2 separate regions of the Homo sapiens genome follow, and region 2 is linked to region 1. Evidence: promoter capture Hi-C in 16 types of primary human blood cells and fetal thymus (Javierre and others, 2016). All regions are on one chromosome and are shown on one strand. Each heading gives the region's core, a stretch centred on a gene start or on the middle of the fragment in contact. The rest is flanking DNA. Distances are from core to core; before and after follow the strand shown. Region 1 holds the start of CD300LF (CD300 molecule like family member f). Region 2 has its middle 18 kb from the start of CD300E.

Region 1 (6,092 bases), core at 1,480-3,979:
AACAGACAGTGCTGTTCCCTCCTTGTTGCTCATGCCCAGGAGAAGAAAGCTTACCCCACCACCCTCGATGCATCTGCCCCTTGTTTTTCAGGGCAGCCCCCATTCCTGGTCCTTTTTCCTGGAAGCCAATGGCTTCCCTACTGCAGAGGGCTGATTGCTCTCTGAGTATCTGCATGGTGCCCTGGGCAGAGGACCTATTGACATGCAGCAGGGACCAAAGGGCTGGCCAAGCCCTCACCCCGGATTCTTGACCTACTTTATGGTCTGCAGATATGTAAAGCGAGAAGCCATCTCTGGCCACGTCCTGGAAAAGCCATGGCTTATCAGCTGCTGTGGTTTTCTGTGCAAATAACCCTCTGCACACCCACTCATTCCTGATTAGGGTGTGAGGGGGTTGCGTCCCTCTTTGAGACTCACTCCCTTGTCAAGATGTCACAGGGTGTATGTGACACATGGCAAAAGTGGCTCCAGGTGCAGAAGGTGAGAAAGGTCTAATCCTTTTATTTATTTTTATTTATTTATTTATTTTGAGATGGAGTTTCACTCTTGTTGCCCAGGCTGTAGTGCAATGGTGCGATCTCAGCTCACTGCAATCTCCACCTCCTGTGTTCAAGTTATTCTCCTGCTTCAGCCTCCTGAGTAGCTGGGATTATAAGCACCCACCACCACACCCGGCTAAGTTTTGTATTTTTAGTAGAGACGGGGTTTTGCCATGTTGGCCAGGCTGATCTCGAACTCCTGACCTCAGGTGATCCACCTGCCTTGGCCTCCCAAAATGCTGGGATTACAAGTGTGAGCCACTGAGTCTGGCCCTTCCTAATCCTTTTATATCCCCAGTCCCGACCCTAGGGACTTGCTGGGGTCTTGATGGGAAAGGAGAGATGGGGGATGGACATGATTGTCAGAAGGAGGAGAGTGAGGGGCAAAACTGGTCCTTCCTTTCTTCCTTCCTTCCTTCAACAAATAGTTATAAGGTGAGGGGTGGAGCGAGGGGATAATAGTCCTGAGCAATGAACTGGTTTCCTCAGGTAGACCCCCTGGTACAATGGACAGGTTTCTGGAAGATTCCAGATGTAGGTATCCCTGGGATCTCACCTGGTGGGCTGGGGTACAGCAGTAGGAGCTTCCTTCGTGTTCTCAGGACAAAGCGCCTCTTGTCAGTGGGCCAGTAGTTCCCTGCTTGCATCTCCCTTCTCTCTGAACCTCTCTGTGCGTGCGTGTGTGTGTGTGTGTGTGTGTGTGTGTGTGTGTGTGTTTAAAGAGACAGCGTCTGCTCTGTTGCCCAGGCTGGAGTACAGTGAACAGTGGCTCAATCATAGCTCACTGCAGTTTCGACCTCTTGGGCTCAGGTAATCCTCAGGCCTTAGCTTCCCAGATTGCTTGGACTACAGGCATGCATGACTCTGCAGAACTAATTATTATTATTATTGTTATTATTTTTGAGACAGAGTCTTGCTCTGTTGCCTAGGTTGGAGTTCAGTGGTGCGATCTGGGTTCACTGCAACCTCTGCCGCCTGGGTTCAAGTGATTCTCCTACCTCGGCCTCCCGAGTCACTGGGATTACAGGTGAATGCTACCACGCCCAGCTAATTTTTGTATTTTTTAGTAGAGATGGGGTTTCACCATTTTGGCCAGGCCGGTCTCTAACTCCTGACCTGGAGTGATCTGCCTACCTTGGCCTCCCAAAGTGTTGGGATTACAGGCATGAGCCACCATGCCTGACTTTTTTTTTTTTTTTTTTTTTTTTTTTTTGTGGAGATGAAGCCTTGCCATGTTGCCCAGGCTGGTCTTGAACTCCTGGCCTCAAGTGATCTTCCTGCCTCAGCCTCCTAAAGTGCTGAGATTACAGGTGTGAGCCACCGTACCTGGCCTTGTAGTCTGGGGTTGGATACCCAATCTCCTCATAGCTGCCTTCCAACCTTTGGTCTGGAATCTCTCCTCTGGCTTTCTGACTTTGGCCACAAGTGCCCCTCAATCCTCTTGAACTTCTGGCCTTCTGGGCTCCCAAGCATCTGGCTACACCTGAAGCTCCAGGTTTAGGACATCGTGTCTATCAGCCGTGGCTCTCCAGGACCCCTCTGGTGGAGCCGCGTGCCCCTGCCCCCAGCCAACCCACCAGGTTTGGAGGATTGGATAAGGGCTGGCCAGACCCAGTGGATCTGTCTGCAGGTTTCCACATGACAGAGGAGCCACGAAGTTCTCTTTTTAGAGAACCCACGGTGGCTGTGTACAGAGAGGTACTTCTCAGAAGCTGATGATTCCTGTGACCCCTTGCATTGTCAACTGCCTCGAAATTTCACCCTTTCCACCTCCTTCCTCTTTTTTTTTTTTTTTTTGTTTTTGTTTGAGACAGAGTCTTGTTCTGTCACCCAGGCTGGAGTGCAAGTGGCACGATCTCGGCTCACTACAACCTCCGCCTACTAGGTTCAAGCGATTCTTCTGTCTCAGCCTCCTGAGTAGCTGGGACTACAGGTGTGCGCCACCACGCCTGGCTAATTTTTGTATTTCTAGTAGAGACGGGGTTTCACTATGTTGGCCAGGCTGATCTTGAACTCCTGATCTCGTGATCCGCCCGCCTTGGCCTCCCAAAGTGCCAGGATTACAGGCCTGAGCCACGGTGCCCAACCAACCACCTCCTTCCTCTTTTAGTCTCTTTCACCCATGGGAAGTGACTGAAGGAGGAAGTTCAAGGGCGAGAGTGAGTACCAGCAGAAGGCTGGGAGTCTGTAGTTTGTTCCTGCTGCCAGGCTCCACTGAGGGGAACGGGGACCTGTCTGAAGAGAAGATGCCCCTGCTGACACTCTACCTGCTCCTCTTCTGGCTCTCAGGTGAGCGGGCCTGGGTCTGTCTTCTTGGGGAAGCTTAGCAAGCAGGAGGAGGTGGCTGAGAGAGGGAAGAAGGGACCCGGCCAGAAGGTGTCCTTAATGGCATGAGCCTTGTGCGTTTCATCCACATACCCACCATTCACCTAGCATTTCCGTTGCCAAGGCAGGAATACAGGGCATGACCTTCATAATGAAGCCAGTGCAAGGCAGAATTCCTGACCCCCAGGGGCTGATCATGTGAAATGGACAGACTGTAGGCCCCGCCGGCCAGGGAAAAGCAGAGGAGGAACATGGGCTGCTCAGGAGAGCAGGCGACTGCCTGATCCTGGACTGGGTGATCTGTCACCTGCGTGGAGGTGTTCTGAGCAAGGGCAGGCGTCAGGGAAGAGGTGAGGCTGGAGGACTTTGAAAGGAGGGAAGAGGGAGTTTGCTGGGCAGAGAGGGAGTGGTGGTTCTAGGCATTTGGGGCAGAAGGAAATAGTAGAAGTTGCTGAGGGACGGAAAGGTCAAGAGGAGATAAGACTGGCAGGGACGTAGAGGAAAGGAGGGACTGAGATGTGGGCAGAGCCAGAGGGCAGGAGACACCTTAAGTTGGTGCATACAATTTTTATTAAAAATGAAGGGAGGCCAGGGAAAGAGGCTCATTCCTGTAATCCCAGCACTTTGGGAGGCTGATTGCTTGAGCTCAGGGATTCGAGACCAGCTTGGGTAACATGTGGAAACCCTGTCTCTACAAAAAGTACAAAAATTAGCCAGGTATGGTGGCATGTGCCTATGGTCCCAGCTACTTGGGAGGCTGGAGGCTGAGGCATGAGGATCACTTGAGCCCAGGAGTTGGAGGCTGCAGTGACCTGTAATCACACTACTGCCTTCCAGCATGGGTGACAGAGCGAGACTCTGTTTCAAAAAAAAAAAAAAAAGAAAAAAGAAAAAAGAAAAAAAAAGAAAGAAAACAAAAAAATAATTTCAAGAAGTGAGAAGTGATAAGTACTGTGAGGAAAACAGAACAAGATGATATGTTACAGTGGGACCCAGGTAGGGGGATGCTGTAAGTCAGGTGGGCTGAAACAACCCCCCTGAAGAGGGTCCCAGATGCCTGTCCGAGCCGAGACCTAGGAAAAGGATCAGACACAGGATCGGGACCAGCTTTCCAGGCACAGGGAACAGTAGATACGAGGGCTCTTGTGTAGGAATGAGCTTGGACTGGGCACGTCTGAGGAAGAGGGAGGTCAGCACGGCTTTGCCTCATGCTTCAGAAGATCCTGGTGGGACAGATTGGAGAAAAGGTCTTGGGGAAGAAAGTGACTTGTCCAGGACTGCTAGGCTGGTACAGGAAGAGCAGGGAGTGGCTCATGGACACTTGGCCCCGAGTTTCAGCATGTAAGTGGAGAAGGCAGACTTTGGGTGAGATGTTATGAAATGCATTGGCACAGTGAGACCAGGACAGGTATGGCTGCTTTTTTTCTGACACCTGGAAATGAGAGAATTTGGTAGTGAGCAGATGTGAGAGTCGTGTTGGGAGTGGGAGTGGTTTGGGACCTCTGTCTGAAGTGGGCAGAAAAGCCAGCAGGCACAGCTATGGGCGCCAACATGGAGCCCGGATACCACTGTGAACCTGCATGCATCAGCTCTTGCCAGCCTCTCCTGCAGAACTTCCACCCACAAGCAGCAAGTGTGCTTACCCTGTTTCCCTCTTCTAAATAATTTATCGTTTTAAAACACCCAAGAAAAAAAATACCCATCCGGAAGTTTGTTTTCTGTGAGAAAGGAAGGTTTTTTATTTTTTTTGAGTTGGGGTCTCAGTCTGTTGCCTAGGCTGGAGTGTGGTGGCATGATCATAGCTCACTGCAGCCTCAACTCCTGGGCTCAAGTGATCCTCCTGCCTTGGCCGTCTGAGTTGCTGGGATTAAAAGCATGAGCCACCGTGCCTGGCAAGAACAGATTTTTTGTTTTTTTTTTTGAGACAGAGTCTCGCTCTGTCACTCAGGCTGGAGTGCAGTGGCGCGATCTTGGCTCACTGCAACCTCTGCCTCCCAGATTCAAGTGATTCTTCTGCCTCAGCCTCCCAAGTAGCTGGGATTACAGGTGTGCCAGCATGCCTGGCTATTTTTTTTTTTTTTTCGTATTTTTAGTAGAGATGGGGTTTTACCATGTTGGTTAGGCTGGTCTCGAACTCCTGACCTCAAGTGATCCACCCGCCTTGGCCTCCCAAAGTGTTGGGATTACAGGCGTGAGCCACCGCGCCCAGCCTCACTGTGCTTTTTTTCCATAAGTCTTTATTGTTTCTGTTAAAGTTATTCCTAGGAATTTAATACACTTTTATTGCTAATGTAAATGAGCACTTTTCTACTTTACTTTCCAACTATTTATTAGCAGTTTATAGGAAAGCCATTGATTTTTACATGTTTATTATTTAGCCACTCTATTAAATTCAATTATGAATTAAAATACTTTTTCATTTAAAATTAAAAAATTTTCTCTAACTTTTTTCCCTTTTGATAATTATACATTTTATGTTTTTCCTTATCTTCCTATATTGATTAGAATTTCCAGGCTGGGCACAGTGGCTCACGCCTGTAATCCCAGCACTTTGGGAGGCCAAGGCAGGCGGATCACAAGGTCAGGAGATCGAGACCATCCTGGCTACGGTGAAACCCCATCTCTACCAAAAGTACAAAAAATTAGCTGGGCGTGGTGGTGGGCGCCTGTAGTCCCAGCTACTCAGGAGGCTGAGGCAGGAGAATGGCGTGAACCCGGGAGGCGGAACTTGCAGTGAGCCGAGATTGAGCCACTGCACTCCAGCCTGGGCGACAGAGCCTGACTCCATCTCAAAAAAACAAACAAACAAAAAAGAACTTCCAGAATCATGTTATTATATATATTGGGAATTCATGTTTTGTTTATGATGTCAATAGGAATGCCTATAGTATTTCACTGTTAAGAATAATTTGGCTGGTGATGCATGATGGCTCAAGCCTGTAATCCCAGCACTTTGTGAGGCTAAGGCAGGCAGATCGGTTGAGTCCAGGAGTTTGAGACCAGCTTGGGCAACAAAGTGAGACCTTGTCTCTCCAAAAAAAAAAATACTAGCCTGGTATGGTGGTGCATGCCTGTGGTCCTGTCGTCCCAGCTACATAAGAGGTTACAGCAAAAGGATCACTTGAGCCCAGGACTTGAGGCTGCAGTGACCCATGTTCGTACCAGTGCACTCCGGCCTGGGTGACAGGCGACCAAGCAAGACTCCATCTCAAAAAAAAAAGAATAATT
Region 2 (5,664 bases), core at 1,738-4,237, 71 kb after region 1:
AGGAGGTCTGAGGTTAGAAGAATGTTTGGACTGGAGATTGAGTTTTCCAGGAATCTGCTCAAAATGGTTTTTAGACCCAGGCTCTGACTGACTTTGAGGATAGTTATCTTGGGATCTGTAGCTTTATGTCTTGCTGAAACTGGGAAAATTTTAGCCGTTATGTTTTCAAATACCTTTTTGCAACTCTGCTTTCTTTCTTTTCTTCTTCTGGAACTTCAATGACATGAATGTTTGCTCTTTTATTACAGTCCCACAGCTACCTAAGGCTCTGTTCATCTTTTAAAGTCTATTTTCTCTCTTTTGCTCAGATCAGACAATTTCTATTGTTCTGTGTTCAAGTTCACCGATTCTTTCCTCTGTCCTCTCCCTCCTGATGTTGAGCCCATTAGCTGAATTTAAAAAATTTAGTTATCATATTTTTCATTTGTAAAATGTCCACTTGCTACTTCTTTGTGTCTATTTCCTTGCTGAGATTTTCTATCTTTTCATATATTTCAAGCATGTTGAGGAGATTGCCATAGCATTGTGTTTGAACACTTGCTTGTCAAGTAGTTGCTGCTTATCATCTCAGTTTCTTTCTTAAAAGAAAAAAAAAAGCAGTAGAATAAACAATGATTGCAGGTGTGAATGGAGACCACCATAAGAAGAGATAGGGAGGCACCAAAGCAGAAGGCAGAGCATGCAGCACTTGCTCTCTGTAGCATGGTCAGCCCAGAGTCTAGGAGGACTGGGCTGTATAGAGGGGAGAGCAGAGCTCAGTAGGCAGAACCATGAAGCTGCTTTTCACCACCTTCCTTCTCTCTCTTCTAGTTGCCTGGGGCAGAAGTGTTGATGGAGAAGTGGGTTAACATAGTAAGTATGTGGGGGACAGTTGAAATGGCAAAGACTTTCTGCTTATTTCTGGAGCCATGCATATGTGCTTAGTACAGGAATTGAGAAAATCATGTGTGTTATTCCAGAGATTAATTCCAACCTTTCTTACCTGCATATAGCATCAAAACCTCCTTCTTTATTTTGAAATAATTTTAGATAATTTAGTATCTTATAGTTTGTAAGAATCTTTCTTTCTTTCTTTCTTCTTTCTTTCTTTCTTTCTTCTTTCTTTCTTTCTTTCTTTCTTTCTTTCTTTCTTTCTTTCTTTCTTCTTTCTTTTTCTTTTTTTTTGGAGACAGAGTCTTGCTCTGTCACCCAGGTTGGAGTAGAGTGGCGCAATCTTGGCTCACTGCAACCTCCATCTCCTGGGTTCAAGCCTCCTGAGTAGCTGGGATTACAGGCACGCACCACCACACCTGGCTAATTTTTGGGTTTTTAGTAGAGACAGGGTTTCACCATATTGGCCAGGTTGGTCTCAAACTCCTGGTCTCAAGTGATCCACTCGCCTTGGCCTCCCAAAATGTTAGGATTACAGACATGAGCAACCACACCTGGCTGCAAGGTTGCTGAGTGGACGGACATTCACTCATTCATCTCTTCACACAGCATGCATTTACTGAGCACCCGCGGTGAGCTGGTCACTGTACTTACTGCTGGGATATGAAGATGAGTCAGACACCGCACCTGCTCTGGAGTGGGGGTTTCTATTCTTATTGGAGAGGGGAACATAGATAACCTCACTCTGGCTTCTGGTTGGGCTCAGGTTGTCAATGGAGGAAAATGACTGAGGCAAGTCTCAATCATTTTAGGAAGTTTATTTGCCAAAGTTAAGGAAACGCGCCTGGGAGACAGGTCTATACCTTTCTCTGAAGATGATTTTGGGGGCTTCAATATTTAAAAGGGAAAGGGTGGGATATTGAGAAATACACAATTTTCTTGTGAGAGGGGAGGTGGGGAAAATAGCCATTCAGGCCTTTGTCTGGCTCAGTGAATCTGCATTTTTACCTAAGATAACGTAAACAACAGGGCAGAGGAAACAGTCAGATATGCGTTTGTCTCAGGTGGGCAGAGGAATGACTTTGAGTTCTGTCCTGTGTCTCGCACCTGTGAAGATAAGCTATCAGTTTACATTGGCATGGGGAAATTTAACAGAAACGCTTTAAAGACCACAATGTGAGGGAGGTTGGTAGCCTGTCATCCTTGTCACCATCTCATTTAGGAACCAACATGGGAGGTAGGTTTGCATGACCCAGTTCCCTGCTTGACTTTTTCCTTTGGCTTAGTGAGTTTGGGGTCCCAAGATTTATTTTCTTTCCAAGGAATGGCAATGGGTGGTGCCAGCAGGAGAAAGGAAGGTGAGAGTTTCTCCTGCCCAGGTGCCACCCTGCTGGGCTGGAGTGTCCGTTTTCCTACTTTGAGGTCACAGCCCCTGTGGCATGGTCCTGTCCTACAGTTCCTGTGGGTTCTGGTTATTTCTGACACCTCTCCCTGTGTTAGAGGTGTCGTGGCCCTACTGCTGTTGCTAGTCCTGTTTTTTCTCCATCTCTTGTTGATTTCACTTAACTCTTTCCTTCTCTTTGTAAATTTCCCCTGCATTAGATTATTCTGTTATACCAACTGAGCCTGCCATTGGCCCACTCCCAGGATCCTGACAGAATCATGATCTCTCCTTCTTCTTTGTATACACAGCGCCTTTACTTAGTAGACGCTCATTAAGTGACTGTCCAATTAATAATAATGTAACATGTTAGGGGCTGTGTCAGCAATTTTTGGGTAAGATTTGCCCTCTGAACATCCAACTCCCTGTTTTGATGTCAGATAAATCTGCTGGATTAGTATATTTGAAGACACAATGATACATAAAAATGTGACTTAACTTGTCTGTTTTTGGAAGTTGTAGGCTCTTGAGAAACTGGGTGGGTGCCCTGTGATGCTAATTATTATGAGAATTAAAGCCACAAAGTTTCTGTTGTGATTAGTAGTTTTCCTGTCTCCAGCTTCTGCTTTTTCTGAACAGCTCTACGTATAAACATTGATGCAATGGGAAAACAACAAAACTGAGGTGTAGAAAAGAGAGACGCAAGGGAGTAGTAAGAAACATGAAAGCCAGTTTCAGTCCAGCTGACAGAAGCTCCCCAAATGTTGGCAGATGAGGCAGAGAGAGCAAAGAGACACAGTGACACATCTGCCCCTCCTGGACATCCTGGGTCCGGGGAGTGGGGTGGGGGAGGCTGGTGGGAGCATGAGGAACAGCAGGCCTAGTGGCTGGGGAAGGGGAGGTGGGTGGGGCTGGGGTGCACTGGGGAGAGGATGAGGGAATCAGAGGGATGACTAGAGTTTCAGGCTCCAGCCTCAGATGGGTGGGCTCTGCTGATAACAAACAGAGGCCCAAGGAAAGCGACTAAGCCAGGCCTGGTAGTCCAGAGGGCACAGAGGCAACCCAGGGTGTAGTGGGGAGCCCCTCCAGGGCCAGGCGAAGTCTTGCTCAGCATGAGGTCTGCAGCTGCAAACACAAAGTAGGACTCACACTTAGCAGGGCCTCCATATGCGGCAGCAGAATGCACAAATGGATTTGAGTTGTTCTGAACATTAGAGAAGCCCAGTGGGGAAAGGAATGCAGGGTCTGGGTCAGGTGCGGTGGCTCACGCCTGTAATCCCAGAGCTTTGGGAGGCTGAGGTGGGTGGACCACCTGAGGTCAGGAGAGGAGCGCCGTGTACCATCAAGACAGCCCTGGCAAATGCTTTTTCACAGTGGTCACAAAGAACCCCAGCAAGGAAGATGTGGCTGTGTGCTGGTGTGCAAAGAGAGATGTTTTTATGCACCCAGGGGACATGGGATGATTGCTGTTTTGTCACATGGGAGTGTCCTGTAACCCCCACCCTCCTTCCCAAAGAGCACAGACTGTGTCTGACAGCTGGTATGTGTGTGCACGTGCGCACATGTGTGCTTGCACACCTTCTGCAGGCTCCTCCTCTGTTCTAGCATCAGAGTCATATCTCTCTCATCTGTTTCTTTTTTCTTTTTCTTTTTTTTGAGTTGGAGTTTTGCTCTTGTCACCCAGGCTGGAGTGCAATGGCACGATCTTGGCTCACTGCAACTTCCTCCTCTCGGGTTCAAGGGATTCTCCTGCCTCAGCCTCCCAAGTAGCTGGGATTACAGGTACCCACCACCAATGCCCAGCTAACTTTTGTATTTTTAGTAGAGACAGGGTTTCACCATGTTGACCAGGCTGGTCTCCAACTCTTGGCCTCATGTGATCCACCCGCCTTGGCCTCCCAAAGTGCTGGGATTACAGGTGTGAGCCACCGCGCCCTGCCAGGGTGGGGGGTCCTAGCTAGGAATACATAGAAAGACTCTGGAGATTCTTTTAATAGGATATGCGAAACTCAGTGTATGTGTGTGTTTTCCTAGGGCATGGGTGTATAGCTTTTGTTACAATCTCAAGTGTATCTGTGACCTCAGCTCCCCGAAGTTAAGAACACAGGGGACTCTCTCTCGCCTTGAATCCTCCAGAATTCGCTCACCAGCCCTGTCTGGTGTGGATATGAAGGTGAAGGAGAGGCCTCGGAGGCTTAGGGCGGGACCCATGGGCTCCTAACAGTGGCATTGCTCATCTCTAATGTTCCAGGTCTTTTCTGGAGAGCCCTCTCTCCTATTCTAGGCTCTGCTTAGCACCGTCAACGTTGCATCCCTTAGTAGCCTGAAATAAAGGGGAGAGAAGCAAATGAAAAAGGAGACCCATGGGGAAGTTATTTGCACAGACGAAGGCAAGTGAGTCAGCTGTGCAGGGTGGGTCTCGGAGGAAGATGCAGGAGTCATGGGCGTGGTGAGGTGGGGGGCACTGGGGCTCGAAGCCCAGCAGTCGCTCACTTTGGGGCTTTTGTCCCTCTGCATAGGTGCTTCTAACGCTGCCAGCTCCTGATGCCAGCACTCCTTTCTCAGCCTGCTCTCTGCTCAAATTGAGTATTAAAAAAAGAAATAAAAGCCACAAATGGGCTGATGTGAGCAGATGGTTTCGGTCATAACCACAAAAACCTTCTTGTTTCCCGTTCCTGATCGACACTGCTCTTGCATAACGCCAAGTCCATGACACTGATGAAGAAAATGCTGGCATTATCTGCCTGTTCCAGGGATGATGGACTGAAAGTTTGTGTCCCCCTTCTTCCCCCACCAAAGATTCATATGTTGAAATCCTGACCATGAAGCTGATGGTATTGGGGGTTTGGGAAGCGATTAGGTCTTGAAACTGGAGCCCTCATAAATGGGATGAGTGCCCTCATAAAAGAGACTCCAGAGAGCTTTGTAGACCTCCCTCTCTGCCATGTGAAGATGGAAAGAGAAGGCAGTCATCTGCAACCCAGAAGAGGCCTTCGCCAGAGCCTGACCAGGCTGACACCCTGATCTTGGATGTCCAGCATCTATAACTGTAAGAAATAAATGACTGCTTAAGCTGCCCACTTTGTAGTATTTCAGTTACAGCAGGCTGAATGGAGCAAGACATAGGGTTGGCCACTGCAGGGCCCCCTCTTTTTTTCTGGACCAGAACGTGCTCGATGGAGTTTCTGGGCACCAAGAGACAGAGGGTGGTGGGAGAGTTCCCTTGTTCTTTATTCTGGATTGAAGTAAAATGCTCACACATAATTGATGTCATGAATTTTTTTTTTAAGTCGGCGTCTCAGTCTGTCACCCAGACTGGAGTATGGTAGCGTGTTCTCGGCTCACTGCAACCTCCACCTCCCGGGTTTAAGGACTCTTATGCCTCAGCCTTCCGAGTAGCTGGGATTACAGGC

The links. Contacts are between HindIII fragments. The CHiCAGO score rates a contact against its expected background, and 5 or more counts as called.
Region 2: a fragment that was not itself captured here is called in contact with the fragment with the promoter of CD300LF in region 1 in 1 of 17 cell types (naive CD8 T cells); the score reaches 5.1 in naive CD8 T cells.

The regions. Positions count from the first base shown.
Region 1 is chr17:74,709,560-74,715,651 of GRCh38, reverse strand. It overlaps CD300LF (CD300 molecule like family member f), which reads left to right and starts at 2,729. Exons shown (of 7, transcript NM_139018.5): 1 at 2,729-2,828. The coding sequence starts at 2,786. It also overlaps a transcript of RAB37 not described here. The HindIII fragment of the contact is 2,812 bases long and covers 52-2,863 here.
Region 2 is chr17:74,639,066-74,644,729 of GRCh38, reverse strand. No RefSeq gene overlaps it. Among named protein-coding and RNA genes, the nearest start is that of CD300E, 18 kb to the right of the region's middle. The HindIII fragment of the contact is 7,428 bases long and covers 1-5,664 here.